Regions from separate parts of the Homo sapiens genome. Here all the other regions are linked to region 3. Evidence: promoter capture Hi-C in 16 types of primary human blood cells and fetal thymus (Javierre and others, 2016). All regions are on one chromosome and are shown on one strand. Each heading gives the region's core, a stretch centred on a gene start or on the middle of the fragment in contact. The rest is flanking DNA. Distances are from core to core; before and after follow the strand shown.

Region 1 (3,963 bases), core at 1,440-3,939, 1.9 Mb before region 3:
ACCCTAAGACTCTGAACCTTAAGGAAATGTCAGAAATGACAGAATTACAGAATCCCAGAATGTTAAAAGTTGAAGAGGACCAGAGACACTACCTAATCACACAGTTCTCAATTTTTTGTGGGTCACAAACCCATCTGAGAATACGATGAAAGTGGCACATCCGTTTTCCAGACTCATGCAAGCAGAAATACATACACGATTTCAGGGGGTTCATATTCACAGACATCGAAGCTCATCTAGTGATCCCAAATTTTTAAGATGAACAAACAGAACCAGAGAGGATAAGGTGACAAATCACTTGCCCAAGATTAAATAGTGTCAAGGTTCAGGCTGGGATACAGACTTCCCAGGTTACAGTAAACATTCTATCATCAAGTCAGTCCTCTGTCACTGTGGTTGTCTTCCTGCATTCCAGAGCAATGCCCTAGTGCTTGGAGAAAGGCTTCTAGATGCTCTGATAGAACTGCATCTGACCACACCCTACCTTCACCAATTAGGATTTATGGTCCATTTAATTTAGGCTCCCATGCAGTGGTCTATGGCCACCTTTGGTATATTACAGTCACTCTGTGGCTGCCTGCTTAGCTGACCTTAGCCACAGGAAGCATTACTTTTGTCTTGGTGTTGCAAGCACATTCTTAAACCAGAGTTGTTTCCAAAAAGTGTTCTCCTATCTCGTCAATTCAAATCTCCTTCCCATCCCAAACTCAAATTACTTTTCTTTACCCTCGTGAAAAATACCCCCTCTCACTTGAAACTTCCCTATATTCTCAATGATCCTATCTGGTCAAGGGCTTCCCTGCCCTTCAAGTTTCTCATGCCTTTCTTTAGTTTCTATTGGTTTCAGCTTGCTCATATCAAAGTAATCTTGCATATCACTTAATTTGACCTCACAGACCTTAATTGACATCATAGACTATCTTGTGTATCTACTGACCAGGACAGCCTCTCTTGTCTAAAGAAATACCACACCACATAAACCAAACTGCTCAGATAAAAACCACACACAAACAAAACAAAACAAAAACCCCCCAACAGGATGATGGTGCTGAAAAAGGCCTAGGAATCATCCAGCTCAACCCTTCGTTTTACAGATAAGGAAAGTGAGGCCTAGAGATGTTAGATGGCTTGTCCAAAGTCACAGAGGCAGGATGTACCAGTGTGAAGCAGGGATACAGGTCTTCAACTCCTTTTTAATTTTATTTCACTATACCACCTTATTTCATTTTAGTATACCACCAATTTTACTTCACTATATCACCCTATCTTACTGGAATCTAGTTGTCCCTTTTTCTCCTCTGCTATGCATTAGTATCTGTTTGACTAAATATAAAGTGTGTACCTCTGGGCACACAGCCATTTAAACAAAGAGGCACACAAAACTCTACATTCTTTACCCAAGGAGGACATCAGAATTACAGCATCACATATTTTAAAGAGGGGAAAGAAGGCTTACAGATAATCTAAAATGTTAATTCTCAAAATGAAAGTTAAAAATTACAAGCGGATTTTTTTCAGTCTATGCCTATGTAATACATACCCTCCAGACTGGACCTCCTCCTTCCCTGGGAAAATCATGGCTTTATAGAACTATTATTTTATCCTTCACTTGTGCTGGGGGAATGGGAAAGGGGATTAAAAACCAGTGACCTAATCCAACGTCTTCCTTTAGCAGATAAAAAAATCTCAAGTTCAGAGAGAGGAAGGGATTTGGCCAAAGTAAACCATCAAGTTAATAGCAACTTTGGAACAAAAATCAAGGTCTCCTGTTTTTCACTTTGTAGTGATTTACACTGCTGGTTTAGGTGTATAAAACAAAGTTTTCTGGACAGAGCTTCTCATTGCACAGGAACCTTCCTAAGTGACCAGTTGCCCTTGGCCAGCTTGGTGTCTGCAAAGAAACACGGTAGACATCTCTTAGTCAAATTCTGGGTGTGCAGAGTGCAGGGAGAATATGCTTTTCAGGTCTGTAAAGACTCCATGAAAAGGGAGTTAAGAATCTGATTTCCACAGCTAGGGCACGGACATCAAAGGCATCCAACACAGATAAGCAAACTGCAGCACAGAAAAGCTAATGGACCTAGACAAGGTCACACGGTGTGTAGGTGGAAGGGGTGAAACTAGAATTCAGGGCTCCTGATACTCAGGCGTGGCAGCCAAAGATGTGTTCACTGCTTCCTGCTCAGGGACATCTCCTCACTACGCTGAACACAGACCTCCTTCACTTTACTGGCCGAAACACCGACTTAACATTAAAATCATGAAATTCGTGACGCCCGGGGTGGGAGACAGTCACAGAAGCTGTCCAGTCCAACACCCTCACCCATTTCATTGAGGAAACTGGGGCCCAGAGAGAGTTCTTTATGCTGGATTTTGGGGCCAGGTTCAGACAAGCAGGCAACCCCCGCAAGCACGGCCTAGAAGGCCAGGAACTACAAATTCAACCCCTGATCTCTCAAGGAGCTCTAGGCCCCAAGGGGGCCAGAGGCCGAGCTTAAGCGGTCGGAAGTTCCAGAATCCCCACCCAGCTACCTCAGCCCTGCCGCACGCACTCCGGGCTTTGCCACCCCGCTCCCGGTCCCCAGGCCCACTCAGCCGCCGCCTCACCTACGCCGACCCTCCGCCTGTTATTGTGGTTGAGAGGGAGGGACGCTACAGACACTTCCCCGGCCCCTACCGCTGAGGCACTTCCGCTTCCGCCGCCGCTCGCATATTTCCGGAGTGTTGTCATCCGGGGCTGGAGCCTCAAACCCGTGTCCATATTGTGTGTGTGAAGAAGCATCGAAGCGCGGCAGCCATGTTCAGCGTGGCATTTCGGAAGGCTTGTCAGGGGTGGAGAAGCGGGGCGGGTTGCTGTTCTTTCACCTGACACTAAAGCGCCATGCCGGAAGCACTGAGTCTGATACGTCGGAACCAGTCTCCACCGTGTGGTTTGGTCTTGATTTCCACTGGTACTCTGGGGTCTTGGATAAGTCTCTGGACCTCGCCTTTGTCATTTGCGAAGTCGATAGGTTCCAATAGAGATTTTCCCAGAATCATTCAACTAAAAATAGAGAACTTTTTTTTTTTGAGAGGAAGGACGGGGGCGCAGTTAAAGATGTTAATGTTAAGTCATCCCTTCTGTGATTTCGGGACATTATCTTTGCACGTAAGTAATAGTATTTTACAGTCCAAAGGAATTTCACATGAGTGTCATTAAAAACTCTACACGACTCTGACATGTAGGCAAGGATCAACTTAATCACCTTTTCTGTTGTTTAATGGATAAGGAATTGTCTTCAGAGAGTGTAATTGATTTTCACAATGTCTCGCAGATGGACTGAAATTCAGATTTTTACCTTTTACATCCTGTGTTCTTGCCCTAATATACATGTAATTAATATGGGCTAAAATCCCTAGATTTAAATAGATACAAATACTTCTTAGGAAAGTTAGTGTGCATTAAAGCCATGTGAGACACAATTTGACAAGACGTAGCATTGACTAGGCTATTCTGCTGGAGAAGAAAAAGCTGAAGAAGGCTTGGGAATCCCATTTCTTCTTATTCTTTTCTTGATTGATAGCAGACCTACTGGTTTTTCCCCTCTTTCCCCAATATGGTTCGGCACCTTAGGTTTCAGCTTGTCTTAGGCAGTCACAGTTTTAGCTATCCCATTCCGTATGTCAAACCATATATCTGTGTTTTTATTTGGAGCTCTGGTAGGACAAACAAAACAAAACCTCATCATATTCATGTACTATTCATTGTAATCTCAGCTTTCATGTTACATTCTTCCTGTAATTGAAGACAAAAATGAATTTTTATGCTATTTGCTTCTGTCGGTTTCTTCATATTCAAACTTTAATAAAGGAAACAGACTTTAGCTTTTTCTGTTTCCCAGGTTATTCTGAAGAATAAATAGGAATTACGAAAGTTTCTAGTGCAGGGCATGGCATATTTAGAAGGCATTCAGTAAGATTTAT
Region 2 (4,263 bases), core at 892-3,391, 2.0 Mb before region 3:
TACTGAAAGCAAAACTATAACGATGGAGATGGAACACACAAATTTACTATTTGACTACCAACATCCACTGCCCCCTAGTAGGAGAACTATATTTCTCAGAGCAAAGTCAGCTAGATGGGTTTAAATATGCAAATAGATATCTGGAAGATAGCCAAACACAGAACTTTAAAAGCTGTTTTCTATAAATATATGAATCTTAAGAATTTGTAAATGTGTGGGAGAAGCCAGCCAGCATGGCTCTGAGAAAAGCAGAAACCTGCCAGTCATTTATTTTAGAATTTCAAATTGGTAAAGGTAATTTGATGCATGGGATCCAGGAGTGGCTTAATACTAGGAATCATATCCACAGAGGACCATGACCAGAAGAAGGGAGGTGTAGCGTGAGGTGAAAAAATACAGGAAATATGGATGAAAGAAGATAAAAGCCAAGGAAGGGACACAAATTTATTAAAGAAATCCAAGGATCCAGGATGATGGCATTTAACAAACAGTAGTTGGCAAAACTGTTTAATGCAATTTTTAAATTTGAGACAATAGGAGCTCTGCTAGCAAGAATAACTAGAGAATGTAAAATTGCAGTACTTGAATGGTCAGTTGTTTATAAAGGCTAAATTCTACCAAATGTTCTTATTGTAACCTACAAGGATTACCCCTTAACTTGTTCCTCTCAAAATAGCAGAGTTAAATTTAGTTTGAACTATGCACACACATTGTATAGCAACAAATGGGAAGTAAAATTAAGGATGAGACAAAAGGACAAAAAGCAGAAGTGAGGTACAGATTGAGATGTAAGATGCAGAAGTCACAAAGGTTAAATTTAGCATATATTGTAATACTATGAAGATGGTAGTACTGATTGTACTGATTAGGAAACCCAAGGAAGAAGGGTGAGACAGATGCAGAGAAGACAGTATACCCCAGGCCCAAACCACTTTCTGTCTCAAACAAACTCTATAAACAAAGGACATAACTGCCCATTCTCCTGGTAATGTTTATTTTTATTAATTTACCACACCTCTGCATCACCATAATACAGTGTTAAACTGTTAAATGATTCCCATAAATTAATGCATTTTAATAAAACTTACCCTGTACTTATATTTGCAATGAACTGTGACAGGCATTGTAGAAAATATAAAGATATGGAAATAAGTCTTTGACCTTAAGGAGCTTATATTATAAATTCCAGATATTACAGAATCCTTTTACATCTAAAAATCCAATTTCAAACTAGATATCACTCCCTGATCTTATAAATGAAGGGTTGCTAGAAATCTTTACTCTTCTCCCATAATTGTGTATCTAAGTCTTATTTAAGACCTACTCCTTATCATTCCTGATGCTCTCCCTGTACCACCTGAGTTTCAGAAATTTCCACTTCTTTAGACCATCCCCAATACCTAGAATAATGCTTAAAACACATATACTCTCTCTCTCTCTGTGTATGTGTGTGTATATATACAGAATAAAGTAGTAAACAAATATTAAAGGCCAGCTATATTAACAGGGACCCCCGAATTCCTTTCAGTGGCCTAAGCCAAAGGTGACAAATTTGAGAAAATATTTACACTTTTTACTTAAGTTGAAGTTACTGGTATATAATTTCAAAGAATATTCAGATGGAGAATGTACACTTGTGAAGCAGTATTTCCCTCACACCAGTGGATCTTTAATGGGAAATCGGAATTTTTATACAGATCTTGCAAACATTTATTTTGCAATCATCAATCAACAAAGCCATCTCTAAAATTCTCATTATTCTTTTTCAGTGAATATTCACATTTTATGGCATTTCAAGGAGTTACAAGTGACCCAAGAAACATGTACTCACCAACTAAATGTAAAGTTTGAATTTTGGCTCCTATAGGAATTTTCAGTTTATTTTCAGGAGGAATTGGAAAAGCTCCATTACGATTACGAAATTTCCCCAAAATATGAACATGGGGCATATATGTCCAAATGGATTCTACCAACTCCAAATGAGAAGTTTCCACACCCTAGAAAATAATGCCAAAGCAAGCATAAGAAAAGACTTTAGTTTAGCATCCAAAGCTTTATGTACCACAAGATGCTAAGTACACAATGGAACTTAAAAGTTTGTGACAGATGAGATTTGCATGTGAGTGAACACGTCTATCATTCTTTGGTCTATTATTTCATAAACAGTTGATGCCAAAATGTTCAACCAGGTGCACTCACCACTAAGTTTGGGCATGCCTGCAAAGCTTCTAGGACTCCTGGAATGCTAAAAGCCTCATGGCCCCTTACTCTTCGCCTCTCAAGGTATCGAGGGTGAAGGCCATATAGCTGTTCAACATCTGGCATCTTCTTTAATAGTGTTAGAAAACTGGCATCTGTAAAGCCTGAGAAGTTCAGAAGTATTTAGAGCCAGGTTCATCTTTCTGTTCATTAACATTTACTAGGCACTCGTGATTTTTACCAAAAGTTAAAAAAGACTTCCTCTTCAAATTTCCGTAAAGCTAACACTAAAGCTGAATAAACATAACAGAAAATATACTCCTTTAGTAACAGAGGAAATGAGTCAGAAACTCCACTTAATCTAAGTTAATACTTTATGGAGGAGGCTTTTATTATTGACTTTTTGGTTTTTGTTGCTTTTAAGGCATAGAAATCTTCAACAAAGAACACACTTTTAACCCAGATAACTTGGACCTATTTGGTGGATGGAGTGGGACCACCCACCTGATCACCACCACCCTCCTCCTCCCCCATGGGTACTCTCGTCTGTAAAACCTTCAGGACTCTATAGAACACATAACTAAAAATATAAATAAGATATGATCCTCATCGTTAGGAAGCTCACAGTTCTGACCTAATTCCTATCTCAAATTATTCTATCCATTTTCTAATAATTACTCTGATACTCTGTCATATGTTTAACTATTACTCCCCCGCCATTTTAGACAATTAATTCTTTTGAAAAAGACAGATGCAAGTTAGCTAAGAGAACCAGAGTGATCCAATCTCAGGGTATGCTGTTGATAGGAAGCTATCTATCCAGGAGACCATAGTAGGAATCAACAAGATGGGAACAGAGAGAGGCAGGTTACTTCCACAGCAGGAGCTGTTGGTTAAGTAAGTGGGGAGACAAGTCTCATATAGATCCTATTTTAATCTGTTACAAGGGCTTTTTTATTTTTAATGAAAGTGGTCAGAAAGCCAACTGTCTGCTTATTAATGACAAAGAAAAACATTAACTGTCAAGAACAAAAAGTAGGCCCCAAATATTTAAGTCTTACATACTTTTTTGAAAGTTGTTTTATTTTTAAGTTATCTCATTTAACATGTAAAGTCCAGACATGCTAACTTTAGTGAAGAGTAAGGAGAGACCAGAGATTACTTGGTCTCTAATTATAATAACAGTTCTTATTACTTTCTTGTATAGTAACTTTTAATGACTGAACGATTCAATGTGTTAATCATTTTTTTTCATTTATTCTCACAACCAAATCAGAAAGGTTATCACCCCATATACAAGCATAAAAAATGAAGTTGAGAGAGTTTAAGAGCTTCCAAATGGCAGTGCTGGAATCTAAAACCAAGTGTAACCCCTGCAATGTTTATCCTCTTTTGTCATACATGTTGCCTCCCACGAGAGAAATGGGGAAAGTTCTATCTTCTTTACAGAGATGGAGTGAGAATCCAAAGAGATCATATACGTAAACCATAAAGTACTATTATATAAAGGATCTGAGTTAAATGCCAGATAATAGGCCAAGGTGGCATTAGTGAGCAAGGTTAGTGTGATCTTATCCTAGGCTAGAGACTGTTTGCTTCAACTCTCTTTTACATTCATTGCAAAGATGGGAAGCCTTGGGCTCACAGGTTATTTATCATAGCCTAAAAGTCAGCAACATGCAGTCAAATTCTTCTCTAATTGGTAAGTGGTAGTGATGTTAATGGTAAGACTATATCACATGGGAGTTCTGCCATCCTGTCTTTATATACTGTGTTAATCCCGTCTTCAGAATTCCAGCTGGCCTAACCTTTGCAAAAGTAAATCTAATATAAGGAATAAGACAATCATTTTCACACTGCCCTAATTTTTTTTCTTTCCTGACATACAGGATCATTCTGAAACAAGATGAGATGAGGCTTTTGCCCTTAGAATGGCTTTTATTAAATATCTGAAAGTAACCGTGGTTTGCCTCCCACAAACCTATTAATAAGCTCCAGCCTCAGGTGTTTGCAATGTTCTTTATAAGAAAGTATATATTGATAACTACTATGGCCAGCTGATAA
Region 3 (3,863 bases), core at 921-3,420:
GGTTTAGTCCAGACCCTGCCAACTACCCAGTGACCTTGTGTAAGTCACTTCACACTTACAGGCAGATTTAATCATTTGATGTGGTTGATTTCATTTACAATTTAGATGGCTCTTACTTAAGCTGGAAGCTCCTGCAGGACAAACCTCTTTTTTCGGTCTGGTTCAGGGCACTATTACCAGCACCTAGGTCAGCAACTGTCATGTAGCACACAATAAATGTCGGCCCAATAAGTGAAGTATCTTTAAATCTCCTATCTTCATTTATTTACAACATAACTACAGAACATCTCATTTGCCAGGCGGTTATGACAGACACACCATGAAGTACATTCAGGTTACAAATATAATGCAAAAATTAAGCCCCAACTTCTGCCATCAAAGAGGCCACATACACACCTAATTTCATGAGAAATGCTAAAATAAAGATCTGTACAGTATGCTCTGCAAGCAACTTCCAATCCAAGAGGCTACGGTATAAAATATTTGCAACAGGGCAAATTCATTTGCAAATTAAAGCTCTATTCAAATCAGTTGTGCAACAGTGTCTAGACTATTAATAAAGCCATTTGGATTTTTTTAAAGCTTTAGAAAGATACTTTCTAAAATGCAAAAGAATGTTCCCTAATAAATCCATCTGAAACTAGCTAAGTAACCTCCCTTTAAGATCGAAATCAGGAATAAACTTGGCATCGCTAATATTTAAAGATGCTGACAATTCACCTTGATCACTCATTAATACTGTATACATATGGAGTTTAAAGGATTTCAGATTCATCTCTGAAATAAAACAAAATTTCATTTCTGCCAAAGTGGAGATTTGTGTGTGCGACCATACAGAATCTGAAAGGCATTTTCCTCTTCTAAAACCTTGAATAACAATACCCATTTCCTTACACAATTTCATCTTAAGTTCAAGACAGTATCAACAGAGTCTTCATAATCTACCCTGCTCTTTTTCATTTTCAAACGTTGACAACAGCACAATTCAGAATGGGAGCTGAACATCTGAAATGCCATTTCTCCCATACAGAAAAAAACCAAAGTACCAAATACACATAAAGCATAATACCTCTTTTCCTCAAAAACCACTGACCAAAAGATTTCTCCAGGTCACTCTCATTTTACCAAATTTTAATTACAAACTCATAGACACTGAGGTTCCAGGGGAAAAAAAGGTCACTGCACTGTTCAAGGAAATGGCATGAGTAGTAGACGAATAGAACGCCAATTGGGATTGCAGGCTCTGAAACCTGACTGCCTGAGTTCAAGCCACTTCCTGGAGCCACAAATCCGCCTATGCAATCTTATTCTACTGACTCAACCTCCACGAGGCTGTTATCTCACCTGTAAGATGGGCGAGTAACAACTGAAGACCCCTCTGGTCTGTGGCCTGCAAAATGTTAATAGCAACTACTCCAAAGGGTGGTTGTGAGGATTAAATGAGACAAACCTAAGTAAAGGGTTTACTGGCACACGGTAAGTGCCTAATAAGGGGTTGCTACTGTTGTTGTTACTCACAACTACAGGATAATAAGGAATAAAGGGATGAAAAAAGGAAGAAAAGCCACAGAAGTTAAGAAAGGCAAGCAATGAGGGGGATGAAATGAAAGGGCAAACGTGGGGAGCCCAAAGAGCCGCGGAGGGCGTGGAGAAGGCTTAGCCAGAAGTGGCGAGGGGTACAGGGAAAGTAACTGCGGAGTGCAGAGACGTCGATGAGGAAAATCAGGCCCGCAGCGGAGCGCGGCCTGGGGACAGACTCAGGTCGGCCGAGACGGAGGCGACACGCGGCTGAGGCGGGGCCCAAAGGCGGGAGCACCGCGCCCGGCCAGAGGGCTGCAGGCCGCGAGAGGCGGCGAGGCCCCAAGAAAGCACTAGGAAGCAGCCAGGGAACGCGCAGGAGGCCCTGGCCCAGCCCGGGCCCGGCTCTCATTCAAGCCACCTTCCCCTTCCCCCTTCTTAAACCCCATGCGGTCCCGGCCCGGGCCGCCCGGCTCCGCTACCCACCGTCCGCCCCGGATCTCCACATGGCAGGTCTAGCGTCTAGCCTCTGGGGCTCTCGTGAGCAGAGATGTGAAGGAGGGCAGCGTTCCTTACCTGAGCTCCCCCGGGTTGAATCGTTCACTCTCGCCCCCGTCCCCGCCACGCTCCGCCATTACAGAGGGCCGCGTTCATCCACCCGCCGACCCGACGTCTCCTATTGGCTAGAAAAATCGTCAATCCCCAACGAGAGAGGCGGAGACAGCAGAAGTCTGAGATGCGGTTGGTCAAACTTTCCATCAATCTTCGAAATGGGGGCGATATGTTCTTTGCTATTGGGCAAGGCGCCCGCCGACTTTGAAAGCGGTATGAAGACAGCCAGTTGATTGGTGACTCGGGGGCTTTATGGGAAATGAGATTTTAGCAGTGAGGAACCGCCGGCGCCCTCTCGCGGTAAGCAGAACTAAGTCCTCCCAAGTTCGGCTCAGCCTGCGGTAGCCACGTGTCTGTCGGCTTCCAGGAGAGCCAATTGTGGAGCCATATTGGCCAGTAGTAGCTCAGGCGGAGAGCATTTCCACTGGGCAAGCCAATCAAAATCGACCTGGGCCGCGCCTAAACCGATTGCACAGTTGCTGTGGAAAGCCGCTATTTCCTAGCTTTACAGTAGCAGGAGTCTTAAGTCACCACTCAGCTCTATATCCATGTTATTAAATAATATATTATTAATTACAAGAATACCTCCCAAATTATACTAAACCGTTGCAAGCCAATAGGTGTTATAAGTTGCTGCATTAAGAAAGGTAAATTGGCGAAGGCAAGCCTCTTTGCAATTTACAGCTTAACCACGTCTCCCTCGATCTCAAAATGTGCTTGTCTGAAATTAGCACACCCAGAATACCAGACAATTCTGAATATTTATTTAGTTTTTCTAATTAACAAAAAAAAAAGTTTTGGATTTGGGGTTTCAAAGGCACAATGAAGATGAGCCCTTTTATTAAAGTCGTAAAAATATTAAAATAATACTAATAGATAAATTTTACTTGGACCTAACCATGTAGCAAACCCGGATCTAAGTATGTCAGGTACGTTAACTCTTTTAAGATTCAAAAATTGCTAGGAGGTGGGTAACATAGTCACTGTTTGTAGATGAGCTTGAGGCACAGAGAAGTTAAGTAACTTGCCCAAGGTCACACATCTACTAAATAGCAGAGCCTGGTCTTAACCCCAGTCAGCGTAGTAGCAAAGCAGCACTCTTAAATACTGTAAGCCTAAATAATTGGATCCACATAAAAACATGTGCACAAATGTTCACAGCAGCAATATTCATAATAGCCAAAAAGTATTGTAACAACCCAATGACCATCAGCTGATGCATGGTTAAGAAGCATGGTATAGGCCGGGCGCGGTGGCCCAAACCTGTAATCCCAGCACTTTGGGAGGCCTAGACGGGCGGATCACGAGGTCAGGAGATCAAGACCATCCTGGCTCACACGGTGAAACCCTGTCTCTACTAAAAACAAATAGCCCGGCGTGGTGGCGGGCGCCTGTAGTCCCAGCTACTCGGGAGGCTGTGGCAGGAGAATGGCGTGAACCCCGGAGGCAGAGCTTGCAGTGAGCAGAGATCGCGCCACTGCACTCCAGCCTGGGCAACAGAGCGAGACTCCGTCTCAAAAAAAAAAGAAACATGGTATAACTGTACAATGAAATATTGTTCAGACATAAAAAGCCACATACAAAAAGGCCGCCTGTTGTATGATTCCATTTACATGAAATATGATGAAATTGCATTGCATTTCAGGCAAATACATACAGACAGAAAGTAGAACAGTGGTTTCCAGGAGGTAGAGGGGAATGAGGAATTGGAAGTGACTGCTGATGGATATGGA

Evidence for each region. Contacts are between HindIII fragments. The CHiCAGO score rates a contact against its expected background, and 5 or more counts as called.
Region 1: a contact is called between the fragment with the promoter of FBXO38 here and the fragment with the promoter of TCERG1 in region 3, in 2 of 17 cell types (total CD4 T cells and naive CD8 T cells). The highest score is 7.7, in total CD4 T cells.
Region 2: a fragment that was not itself captured here is called in contact with the fragment with the promoter of TCERG1 in region 3 in 1 of 17 cell types (total B cells); the score reaches 6.7 in total B cells.

The regions. Positions count from the first base shown.
Region 1 is chr5:148,382,684-148,386,646 of GRCh38, reverse strand. It overlaps FBXO38 (F-box protein 38), which reads right to left and starts at 2,689. Exons shown (of 22, transcript NM_205836.3): 1 at 2,608-2,689. It overlaps FBXO38-DT (FBXO38 divergent transcript), which reads left to right and starts at 2,797. Exons shown (of 5, transcript NR_105057.1): 1 at 2,797-3,148. RefSeq lists an enhancer at 2,713-2,912. The HindIII fragment of the contact is 17,680 bases long and covers 1-3,963 here.
Region 2 is chr5:148,400,082-148,404,344 of GRCh38, reverse strand. It overlaps FBXO38 (F-box protein 38), which reads right to left. Exons shown (of 22, transcript NM_205836.3): 4 at 2,200-2,363; 5 at 1,832-1,997. Among named protein-coding and RNA genes, the nearest start is that of FBXO38, 18 kb to the right of the region's middle. The HindIII fragment of the contact is 173 bases long and covers 2,055-2,227 here.
Region 3 is chr5:146,445,640-146,449,502 of GRCh38, reverse strand. It overlaps TCERG1 (transcription elongation regulator 1), which reads right to left and starts at 2,170. Exons shown (of 23, transcript NM_001382548.1): 1 at 2,095-2,170. The coding sequence starts at 2,153. RefSeq lists a silencer at 1,802-1,881 and an enhancer at 1,800-2,507. The HindIII fragment of the contact is 4,342 bases long and covers 585-3,863 here.